Linked DNA regions of Homo sapiens: all the other regions are linked to region 2. Evidence: promoter capture Hi-C in 16 types of primary human blood cells and fetal thymus (Javierre and others, 2016). All regions are on one chromosome and are shown on one strand. The core of a region is centred on a gene start or on the middle of the fragment in contact, and the rest is flanking DNA. Distances in the headings are between cores, read along the strand shown.

Region 1 (3,365 bases), core at 215-2,714, 4.4 Mb before region 2:
AGGCACAGGTCTGCTAGACTCCAAAGCATCCGCTCTTAACCACCATGTCCTACTTTTGCCTTTAAGCTAAACCCACAGCTATTCACTTACTATTGACCTAAGTGACACTGGGGTCATTTCTTGCTCCTGAAGAAGTGTGTTGCTATTATTACTTTATTCTTCCAAGTGTTCTGTTAATGTAATTTAGATTAAATTTTACAGGTTTACTAATAGTATAGTATTATTTGTAAATTAAGAGGTAGACACTGTGAGCAATGCAAATATGTGAGCTATATTCCGTTTCTGGAGTTTACATTTCCACTGGCAGGACAAGATAGAGACATATAAAATGGTCAAGTTACAACACAGTAAATGATATAATTTTGTCAAAATCAGTGATTGACATTAAGTGTTACATATAATGAAAGAAGAGAGGGATTGTTGAGGCTTGACATAATTTGGAAAGTCTTCATAGAAGCAAAGCTTAGGGGCCGGGCGCTGTGGCTCACGCCTGTAATCCCAACACTTTGGGAGGCCGAGGCAGGCGGATCACCTGAGGTCAGGAGTTCGAGATCAGCCTGGCTAACGTGGTGAAACCCCATCTCTACTGAATATACAAAATGAGCTGGGAATGGTGGCATGCACCTGTAATCCCAGCTACTCAGGAAGCTGAGGCAGGAGAATGGCTTGAACCCAGGAGGCAGAGGTTGCAGTGAACCAGGACCACACCACTGCACTCCAGCGTGGGTGACAGAGTGAGACTTTGTCTCCCCCTAAAAAAAAAAAGAAAAGCTTGGATTTCTTCCCAAAGAATGGGTATGATTTATTATGTACATATATAGATTCTTTTGTATTCCTAACAAGAATACAATTTAACTATAGTATTTAACAAGAATACAGTGTAAATAGAGTATAGTATTTGTTGCAGTTATGAAGCATAAATTGTTTTTGATAGTTGAAATTAAGGATTATAGCCAAAAGTGTCCTAGACAAATGCAAATTGATTTCTAAAAATGAGAAAAGTATAATTGTATCATTAACCTGGACAATGACTAGTGAAGTTGTCACTTCTTACAGGGCTGCGGTGGCTTGTGTCGGAGCATTTTATGAAAAAATGGGGAGAATGTTGGGCAGCGCATTTCCAGAAACGGTAAATAATCTATTGAAATCTCTGAAAAGTGCAGAGGTAAGTTTTACAACCAATATTATTTGAATATTTGCTTGTGGCAAGAGTTAGATGTCAGCTAAAATATGTTTGTTTCTTTTTCTGTCACTGTGGTCTCATATTGCTTAGCAAGGAGGTAATTACAAATTATTACTTGTCCCTTCTTTTAATGTATATCAGGGGGAAGGGAAAGAATGCTTTTCTTTGACAAGGAATAGGTTTACTTGTTATTTTTTATTTAGTCCTATGGTACTTTTGGATTGGCTTTTTTTTTTTTCTTTTTTTTGGTGCCATAGCTAATGTGTTAATTTCCTGGTTACTGTAATAAATTACCTTAGACTGGGTGGCTTAAAACAACAACAATTTATTGTCTCACAGTTCTGGAAGCTGGAGGTCTGCGATAAAGTGTCAGCAAGGCCATGTTTCCACTGAAGGATCTAGGGAAGAATGTTTCCTTTCCTTCTTACCTTCTAGTGGTTGCTGGAAATCTTTGATCTTCCCTGGCTTGTAGATGCATCTCTCCCATCTCTGTCTCCTTTGTCACATCACCTTTTTCCTGTCCCTTTGTGTTTTGTGTCTAAATTATTTCCCTGTTCAGTGATACCAGTCATTGGATTAGAATTGGATACCTTTTCTGGGAACTATTTGTCTATTCATTCATTAAAAAAGAATTGAGGACTTATTATTTGTCAGGCATTAAACATACAAAGATGGTCCTGACCTCAAAGAACTTACAGTTTAGTGGAAGAGAGCTAAGTGTGAATAAGCATTGTGATACACTGTGATGAGTATACTATCAGAAATAACAATAAGCACTATGAGAATATGGATATAACAGTTTGAGTTAGTCACAAGAAGATGAAGGTTTGCTGTATTTCTGACATGTTTTTTTAAATGTGTTGGATGTTTTCTGCTTCCTTTTTTGGATCATTTATATATTATTTCTCAACTTTTTTACTTAATATTTTACGTTCTGAAATATTTTATATATTGAGATATGATATTGAAGCTTTTGAATCTCTTCATGTTTTCATTATATTGTATGTACTTCAGTAATTCATAGAAATATTGGAATATATTTACTTAAAACCTAATTTTTTAGAAAGATATTATTTAATTGACTATTCTTACTTGCCAGGTACTTTCTAGAATACTTAATTTTATTGTACTTTTCATTATTTACCGTTTATAATTTGGAGGTAAGACCATTAGACCCAAAGAACTTTTGTCTTGGTGTGTTCTTGTTTAAATATGGAATTTATTTTACAAAATAGTTTTGTTTTGTATACATGTCTAGTCTCAAGGGCGAAGTGAAATCTTAATGAGTCTACAGAAAGTTCTAAGTGGACTGGGTGGTGCAGCAGCTTCCTCCCATCGTGATATTTACAAGAATGCCAGGTCTCTCTTGACTGATAGGTCAATGGCTGTTCGATGTGCAGTGGCCAAGGTTAGTACTCGACCAATTTAGAATACTGCTCTTTATCCTTCTTGCTCTTAAACAGTCAACGATTTTTTTTTCTTTTAAAATTTTAAATTATGTTTTGTGTTCCAATGGATTAGTTTCATTTTCTAGAATTATATATAATAGTATCACATCATGAGATGTACTTTTGTGTATGTGTATTCTGGCTTCTTTCACTTAGTATAATTGTTTTGAAATTCATTTATGTTGTTATATGTATCCATAGTTCATTCCTTTTTATTGCTGAGTAGTATTTCATTGTATGGATATGTCACATTGATTTGTTCACTCACCTGTTATAAACATTTGAGTTGCTTCTAGTTTTGATTATTACAAAAAAACTGCTGTGAACATCTGTATATAAGTTTTTGCACAAACATATGCTTTCATTTCACTTCCGCAAATAACCTAGGGATGGAATAGCTGGTTCATAGGGCAGATTTAGTTTAACGTTCAGAAAAGTACAAAACTGTTTTCCAAAGTACTCGTGCCATTCTGCATTTCTACTAGCAGTGTATGAGAATTTCTCTTCCTTCATATCATCACCATTGTTTGTTACTGACAGTCTTTTTAATTTAAGCCATTCTAATGGATACATATGTCATTGTATCTCATATCTCAATGGTATCTCATTGTGGCTTTAATTTGCATTTCCGTGATGACTAATGATAAGCATATTTTCAGGTGCTTATTTGCCATCCATATCTTCTTCGAAGAAGGATGTGCTCAATCTTTTGTCCATTGTTTTATTGGGTTGTT
Region 2 (3,740 bases), core at 458-2,957:
ATTAATCTTTGCCTCCTAGGCTGGGCGCGGTGGCTCATGCCTGTAATCCCAGCACTTTGGGAGGCCGAGGTGGGTGGATCACGACGTCAGGAGATCGAGACCATCCTGGCTAACACGGTGAAACCCCGTCTCTACTAAAAATACAAAAAAAAAAATTAGCTGGTCGTGGTGGCAGGCGCCTTTAGTCCCAGCTACTCGGGAGGCTGAGGCAGGAGAATGGCGTGAACCCGGGAGGTGGAGCTTGCAGTGAGCCGAGATCGCGCCACTGCACTCCAGCCTAGGCGACAGAGCGAGACTCTGTCTCAAAAAAATAAAAAAAATAAATCATTGCCGCCTAGGCCGTGCATGGTGGCTCATGGCTGTAATCCCAGCACTTTGGGAGGCCGAGGCGGGTGGATCACCTGAGGTCAGGAGTTCCAGACCAGCCTGACCAACATGATGAAAGCCGTCTCTACTAAAAACACAAAATTAGCCGGGCATGGTGGTGCATGCCTGTAGTCCCAGCTACTTTGGAGGCTGAAGCAGGAGAATCGCTTGAACCGGGGAAGCGGAGGTTGCAGTGAGCCGAGATGGCACCAGTGCACTCCAGCCAGAGCAACAAGAGGGAGACTCCATCCCCCCAAAAAAACAACTTTGCTGCCTCATTTTAGCTCCTCTGCTTACCAACAGTGTGACCTTAAATAAATTACTTAACCAGACCCGGGCGCGGTGGCTCAGGCCTGTAATCCCAGCACTTTGGGAGGCTGAGGCAGGCGAATCATCTGAGGTCAGGAGTTCCAGACCAGCTAGGCCAACATGGTGAAACCTCGACTCTACTAAAAATACAAAATTAGCCGGGCGTGGTGGCGCATGCCTGTAATCCCAGCTACCCTGGAGGCTGAGGCAGGAGAATCACTTGAACCCGGGAGGCGGAGGTTGCAGCGAGCCGAGATCGCGCCATTGCACTCCAGCCTGGGCAAAAAGCAAAACTCCGTCTCAATAAATAAATAAATAAATAAATAAATAAATAAATAAATAGATAAAATAAAATTACTTAACCCAACTGTATTTACAGATCTTCACCGCAAAATGGGATTAAAAATTGAATCTACCTTAAGTATCTACTATAAGCATTAAATGACTGAGTACATGTTAAGGGCTTAGAAAAATAACTGACATTGCCATTGTCATTATTACTGAACCTGGGCGGTAAGAAGTTTTGCGCAAAGAAAGTGAGGACCACGCCCACCATGTCAAAGACTAAACGACCCAAAGCCTCAAGGAATCAGCTAGACTGTGTTAGGGAAAAATGAAGGGAGGGATGAGAATCAGTCGCTGCCATCCCTTTTCCTCACAGTTCCCACGATAGCCTAAGGCCCGGTAGGTGCGCCTCTCACCTGAACCGACGACCCCCTCCTGTTTCCATTGCTGCCGCTCAGCCTCAGTGGGGAATCCCCTCAGAATTGCCAGCTCCGGGGTCCACATCACCCCAGACACCGCTGCAGCCAAAACAGGCTCCCACGAGGGCCACACGGGAGTCAACAAAAGAAAGTGAAAACAGGAGAGTCCAAAGGCGCTGAAATCTAGTGGCGACAGTTACCGTAAATACACCTGCGGCCCTAGAATTCCATGTGCGGATACTACCTCAAGGAGGCGGCCATAACAGCAGCGCGGGGCACCCTGGGAAAAACACGCACGCTCTCTGGTCTGGCTTCCGCCTAGGAGAAGAACCCGAGCTTGAGTAAGGAGCCTGTTGGGTGGTTATGCCCCACCCCGGGGCGGGCAATAGGGGGAGTTGAGGGCGCGGTCGCGCTCAGCCCCGCCCCCAGTGGGACCGCTTCCAAGAACTGTGAACGTGGAAGTGAGTGTGCCTCCCACCGAGGGCTAGGGTTCAAATGCAACTCAAAACGGACGTCTTGGCCAAAGCAGTTTGATTAGAAGGGCTAGAGTTGTGATTCTTAAAGCATTTTGGGTTAGAACGCTCTCGACAACCCGATGAAAACCACAGTCCTTCGCGCAGAGTGCAGGTGGGCCCTTGCTCTCAGCCTAAGGGTACCCTCTCAGGGAATCACAGACCCTCTGACGTGGAGTCGGTGAAGCCCAGGTTGGAACCCCGTCAGCATAGCATGGGTCTTTCGGCGAATGAGCGTGTAAGGAAAGGATCTGGTTTTGACACTGCTCTACATGAATCATGGCCGGGTGGGAAATCTGCCCCTGCCGCTGGTGCAGGGAAGTTTTTGGAACACTGTCGGAACGCTGTAGAAGAGTGATCCCAGGGGTGATCACAAAGAAATTGCAAGGAGACAAACCAGCCTCCGCTGGTACCTTATTTGCACTTCTTTGAATCTTCCTAGCAGCACTCCAAAGAAACAGTTAGAGGGCGGGCGCGGTAGCTCACGCCTGTAATCTCAGCACTTTGGGAGGATGAAGCGGATGGATCACCTGAGGTCAGGAGTTCGAGACCAGCCTGGCCAATATGGTGAAACCCGTCTCTACTAAAAATACAAAAATTAGCCGGACGTAGTGGGGCACCCCTGTAAACCCAGCTACTCGGGACGGTGAGGCGGGGGAATTGCTTGAACCCGGGAGGCGGAGGTTTCAGTGAGCTGAGATGGTGCCACTGCACTCCAGCCTGGGCAATAGGAAAGAGGGAGGGAGGGAGGGAAGAAGGAAGGAAGGGAGGGAGGGAGGGAAGGAGGGAAGGAAAACAGGACTATGGCTTTGTCCCATTGGCTTGACACCTGTACTGAGATATGTCATGTAAGAGCCAGGAGAAAACTGCAGGGTAACTCTGACCACAAGAGCAAAAGCTCTCTGAAAAGAGGCTGACCCGGTACCCAGCTCCAAGGAAGAAGCTAAATAAATGTTAATTCACTTTCTTACTCAGTAAAGAGCCACTCCAGAATGTGAAGGGAGAGGAACTCAGCTCAGCTCATTTCAGCCATTGCCATCAGATACCAAAGGAAGCCGGACCTGACTGTGATTGGAGAAGAGCGGATGCCCTAAAATGTCCTCCCACTGAGAAGTAATTAAAAACTGTTTTTCAGGCCGGGCGCAGTGGCTCACGCCTGTAATCTCAGCACTTTGGGAGGCCGAGGCGGGCGGATCATGAGGTCAGGAGATGGAGACCATCCTGCCTAACAAGGTGAAACCCCATCTCTACTAAAAATATTTTTTTAAAAAATTAGCCGGGCGTAGTGGCGGGCGCCTGTAGTCCCAGCTGCTCAGGAGGCTGCCGCAGGAGAATGGCCTGAACCCAGGAGGCGGAGGTCGCAGTGAGCCAAGATCGCGCCACTGCACTCCAGCCTGGGCAGCAGAGCGAGACTCCGTCTCAAAAAAATAAACAAACAAAAAAAACCCCACTATTTTTCTAGAAAATGATACTTGACCAGGTTGTCTGTTCATTTCCTTAAGTATAAAAGCCAGCACTGTCTAAACTAATTTGATAATTGTTAAAGATGAACGTCTGTAAAAACACACTGGCCGCTCTGCCAAAGTTCCTCACCTGTATGTAGCACCCCGTTAATCCACATAGTAAACTTGCAACTTTCAGTTAAATTCAAGGTTGGTTTGTTTTAAATGTGGTATGCTAGATGATGATGGTGACTGAAGTCTGCCTAATCTCCCTTCAAGCAAAGTGAATTCCAGTAATAAAGTAGGTGGGGAATATGGTCTCGATTAAAAATATGTACATAGTGAGTGGAAATTGAGCAGGCAATGAAATATCTACTGTAGGATTCAGTATAGAATGCCTTGGCTGA
Region 3 (3,715 bases), core at 821-3,320, 4.4 Mb before region 2:
GACCAGCCTGGGAAACATAGTGAGACACTCATCTCTACAAAAATTACAAAATAAAAAATGTCTTTAATATGTAGGTTGCTTGATTAATTGCTTTTTAATTTGAGGAGAAAAAAGTTTAAATATGAAACTTTACCCAAATATCTTTAAGAACATTTGGTTGCCACATAAATGTTAAATGATGTTAAAGGTGGAAGAATCTTATAAAGCATCTATTTCAACATTTTGGTTTTAAATCTTAAGGACATCCATATCTAAGAGTTTGGTTTACCCAAGGTTATACAACTAGTTATGAAAGCTATAACTGAAATCCAGGATTATCTCAATTCTGTATGATCACTTTTACAGAATAAGATGAAGTATAAATAAATAAATTCTATTAAAAATATAAACATATAATAAATAACATAAATATTCAACAGTAGGAGGATAAGTGAATAAATAATAGAAAGTCCATTTTTGTAGAGACAGTGTTTTGATAGAAGATGCTCATGATACAATGTTAAATTAAAAAGGTAAAAAGCAAGAAGTGATCCTACTTTGGTTTTCAACCAGCAGGCTGTGCGGCTTAATATATTTACTGCTGTTCTTAGTGCACAAAAGGTACTTACTTACTTTTAAGAATTTTTTAAAGTACATCAAAATGTGCATGTATACACGTACATCTGAATCTGTATCTTCATATGAGTTTTGAATAATGCTTTGACCTGAGACCTGAGACCTGTAGACTAGTATAAATTGAGCTTTAAATCCTTACAGCGACCTCAGGGAGATTTTATTACCAACTTGAGGTCATAATTGTCTTAGTACTAAATCCAACTTCCTTGGATTCCTTTGTTTCACATCATTTCTTTTTAGAAGAATGCTCTCTCACTCTCTTTTTATCAAAATCTTCTGAAATGGGCCGGGCGTTGTGGCTCACACCTGTTATCCCAGCACTTCGGGAGGCAAAGGTGGGCAGATCACCTGAGGTCAGGAGTTTGAGACCAGCCTGGCCAACATGGTAAAATCCTTCTCTACTAAAAATACAAAATTAGCTGGGTGTAGTGGCGAACACCTGTAGTCCCAGCTACTCGGGAGGCTGAGGCAGGAGAATCATATGAACCCAGGAGGCAGAGGTTGCAGGGAGGCAAGATTGCACCATTGCACTCCAGCCTGGGCAACAAGAGCGAAACTCAGTCTCAAAAAAAAAAAAAAAAAAAAATGCAGAGCACAGTGGCTCACGCCTGTAATCCCAGCACTTTGGGAGGCCGAGGTGGGCAGATCACCTGAGGTCGGGAGTTCGAGACCAGCCTGACCAACATGGAGAAACCCAGTCTCTACTAAAAATACAAAATTAGCCAGGCGTGGTGGCGCATGCTACTCGGGAGGCTGAGGCAGGAGAATCACTTGAACCTGGGAGGTGGAGATTGTGGTGAGCCGAGATCGCGCCATTGCACTCCAGCCTGGGCAACAAGAGCGAAACTCCATCTCAAAAAAAAAAAAAAAAAAACAGAGAAATCATCTAAGATGGCCATGGATTTTTTTTTTTTAATAAACTGATTCTTTTTTATTAATATAAAAAACAATTCACTTCTGGTTTTTTACATTTAAAAAAATTAGCCAAAGCTAAATCTTTTTTGAACTTTCCCAAAAGCTTCTGAGGCTAGGACATGAGGTACTATTCTAAGAGTATTTTTAAAATAGGAAAAAGAATTATACTACATTTAAAATTTTCTAACTTAAAAATCTTCCACGGAGATACATAATTAATGATTGTTATCTTTGCAAGAAACCTTGAGCGTCTACTAGATGCCAGGCGCTTTGTTGGACAGTGCTGTTAATGTTGAAGACCACTGCAATTGTGACCTTATTTTGTTAATTGAAACTCTTTTCTTGTTCCATTTAATAACCGCATGTCCATATAATATTTTGGGAGAAGGAGATCTGGTTTGGACTAGCTGTGGGAATGAAATAGAAAAGAGATAGCATGGGGAATTATTTGCTAAACAATTAACTTGTACTCTTCTTATCCGTTTTTGAGCCATATTGGAATAAAATTTGTCACTAATGTGATTTTTTTTTCTTATTGTTATAGATTACAAATGTTGGATCACTTTGCTGAATGTGTTAAACAAGCTAAAGGTGTCCGCCAGCAGGCTGTGCAGCTTAACATATTTACTGCTGTTCTTAGTGCACTAAAGGTATTTACTTTTAATACATACTATTCTGAAATAAGTTTTTAATTAATGCATTTAATAAGCCAGACATAGCAAGATTATTATAATGTTTATATGTAAATCACTTGGTAACTGTGCCTTTACGTTAGCTTAGTTAAATTACTTGAAACTTTATGTTAGGCTCAGTGTAGTTAAATAAATGTTTTATATTTTAATGTTGTTAAAGTTTATGTTTCAATTTGAACTTCAGATTTTACAAGTGCCAATAAATTCTTTCAGAATTTTCAAAGATGTTTGACGAATGAAATCGGATATTCTACTGAAGGTTAACTAAATAGAGCTGAAGCTTGATCTGTGGTTTAGGCCACAAATCATGTGAGGCAGTGTTACATAATTGAAAGAATGCTGCATTTAGAGATTGCGTTCTCATTAAGCTACTCTAGGTTTGTGTCCAGAGTAATTTCTTTAAACTTTTTTAACCTTTTTCGAGTTGTAGTTTCTACAGGTATGAAGAAGAATACAGTAGTCCCTTCCTTATCTGCAGTTTTGCTTTCTGCAGTTTCAATTACCAATGGTCAACTGTGATTTGAAAATATTAAATGGAAATTTCCCGAAATAATTTATAAGTTTTCAATTGTGCAACATTCTGAGTAGCATGATAAAATCTTGTACTGTCCTGTTCCATCTTGCCCTGTCCTGCCTAGGATGAGAATCATCTCTTTGTCCAGTGATTCCACACTTTCTACCCTACCTGTCTGTTAGTCACTTGGTCACCATCTGTCTCAGTTATCAGATGGGCTGCTGCAGTGTGGCAGCACCTATGTTCAGATAACCCTTGTTTTACTTCATACTGGCCCCAAAGTGCAAAAGTAGTGATTCTGGCAATTTGGATATGCCAAAGGGAAGCTGTAAAGTGCTTCCTTTAAGTGAAGAAGAGAAAGTTCTCAACTTAAGAAGGCAAGAAATAATATCATATGCCAAAGTTGCTGAGATCTACAGGAAGAACAAATCTTCTGTCTGAAATCATGAAGAAGGAAAAAGGAATTTGTGTTAGTTTTGCTGTCCCATCGCAAATTACAAAAATCATGGCCATGGTATGTGATAAGTGCCTAGTTAAAATTGAAAAGGCATTAAGTTTGTGAGTAGAAGGCATGAACAGAAACAAGTTCCCATTGACAGCAATCAGGTTCCTAATCCCATGGTTCAGACATCCAAGGTGGGCCTTGGAATGTGTCCCCTGTGGAAAAGAGGGGACCACTGTTACAAATAGTTTGCCTATCTCACAGGATTCGCGCATCATACTAGGCACTCTATCATAAAGTGTTTGAATACTTTTTATATTATTCAGTGCTAAGCTTATTTTAAAATAAAATGGTAGCAAATATGTGTTTGCATGAACATGTCTTAGGTCATGCTTAAGTCATATTTTGTAAACATCAGGGAAAAAGGATATATATAGGCATTGATTATAGAAATAAGGGTTTGGGGCTGGGCGTGGTGGCTTATGCCTGTAATCCCAGCACTTTGGGAGGCCGAGGCGGGGGGATCACCTGAGGTCA

Evidence for each region. The method cuts DNA at HindIII sites, captures the fragments that hold promoters and counts their contacts. A CHiCAGO score of 5 or more calls a contact.
Region 1: a fragment that was not itself captured here is called in contact with the fragment with the promoter of TTC27 in region 2 in 1 of 17 cell types (non-activated CD4 T cells); the score reaches 8.4 in non-activated CD4 T cells.
Region 3: a fragment that was not itself captured here is called in contact with the fragment with the promoter of TTC27 in region 2 in 1 of 17 cell types (M2 macrophages); the score reaches 6.4 in M2 macrophages.

The regions. Positions count from the first base shown.
Region 1 is chr2:37,074,711-37,078,075 of GRCh38, reverse strand. It overlaps HEATR5B (HEAT repeat containing 5B), which reads left to right. Exons shown (of 36, transcript NM_019024.3): 4 at 1,057-1,165; 5 at 2,442-2,591. Among named protein-coding and RNA genes, the nearest start is that of HEATR5B, 8.0 kb to the left of the region's middle. The HindIII fragment of the contact is 1,382 bases long and covers 774-2,155 here.
Region 2 is chr2:32,626,017-32,629,756 of GRCh38, reverse strand. TTC27 (tetratricopeptide repeat domain 27) reads right to left here and starts at 1,707. Exons shown (of 20, transcript NM_017735.5): 1 at 1,377-1,707. The coding sequence starts at 1,464. LOC124905985 (a long non-coding RNA gene) reads left to right here and starts at 2,979. Exons shown (of 3, transcript XR_007086273.1): 1 at 2,979-3,124. RefSeq lists a silencer at 1,218-1,347 and enhancers at 1,598-1,657, 1,186-1,845, 2,068-2,127, 1,846-2,507. The HindIII fragment of the contact is 6,273 bases long and covers 1-3,740 here.
Region 3 is chr2:37,051,967-37,055,681 of GRCh38, reverse strand. HEATR5B (HEAT repeat containing 5B) reads left to right here. Exons shown (of 36, transcript NM_019024.3): 17 at 2,075-2,180. Among named protein-coding and RNA genes, the nearest start is that of HEATR5B, 31 kb to the left of the region's middle. The HindIII fragment of the contact is 869 bases long and covers 1,636-2,504 here.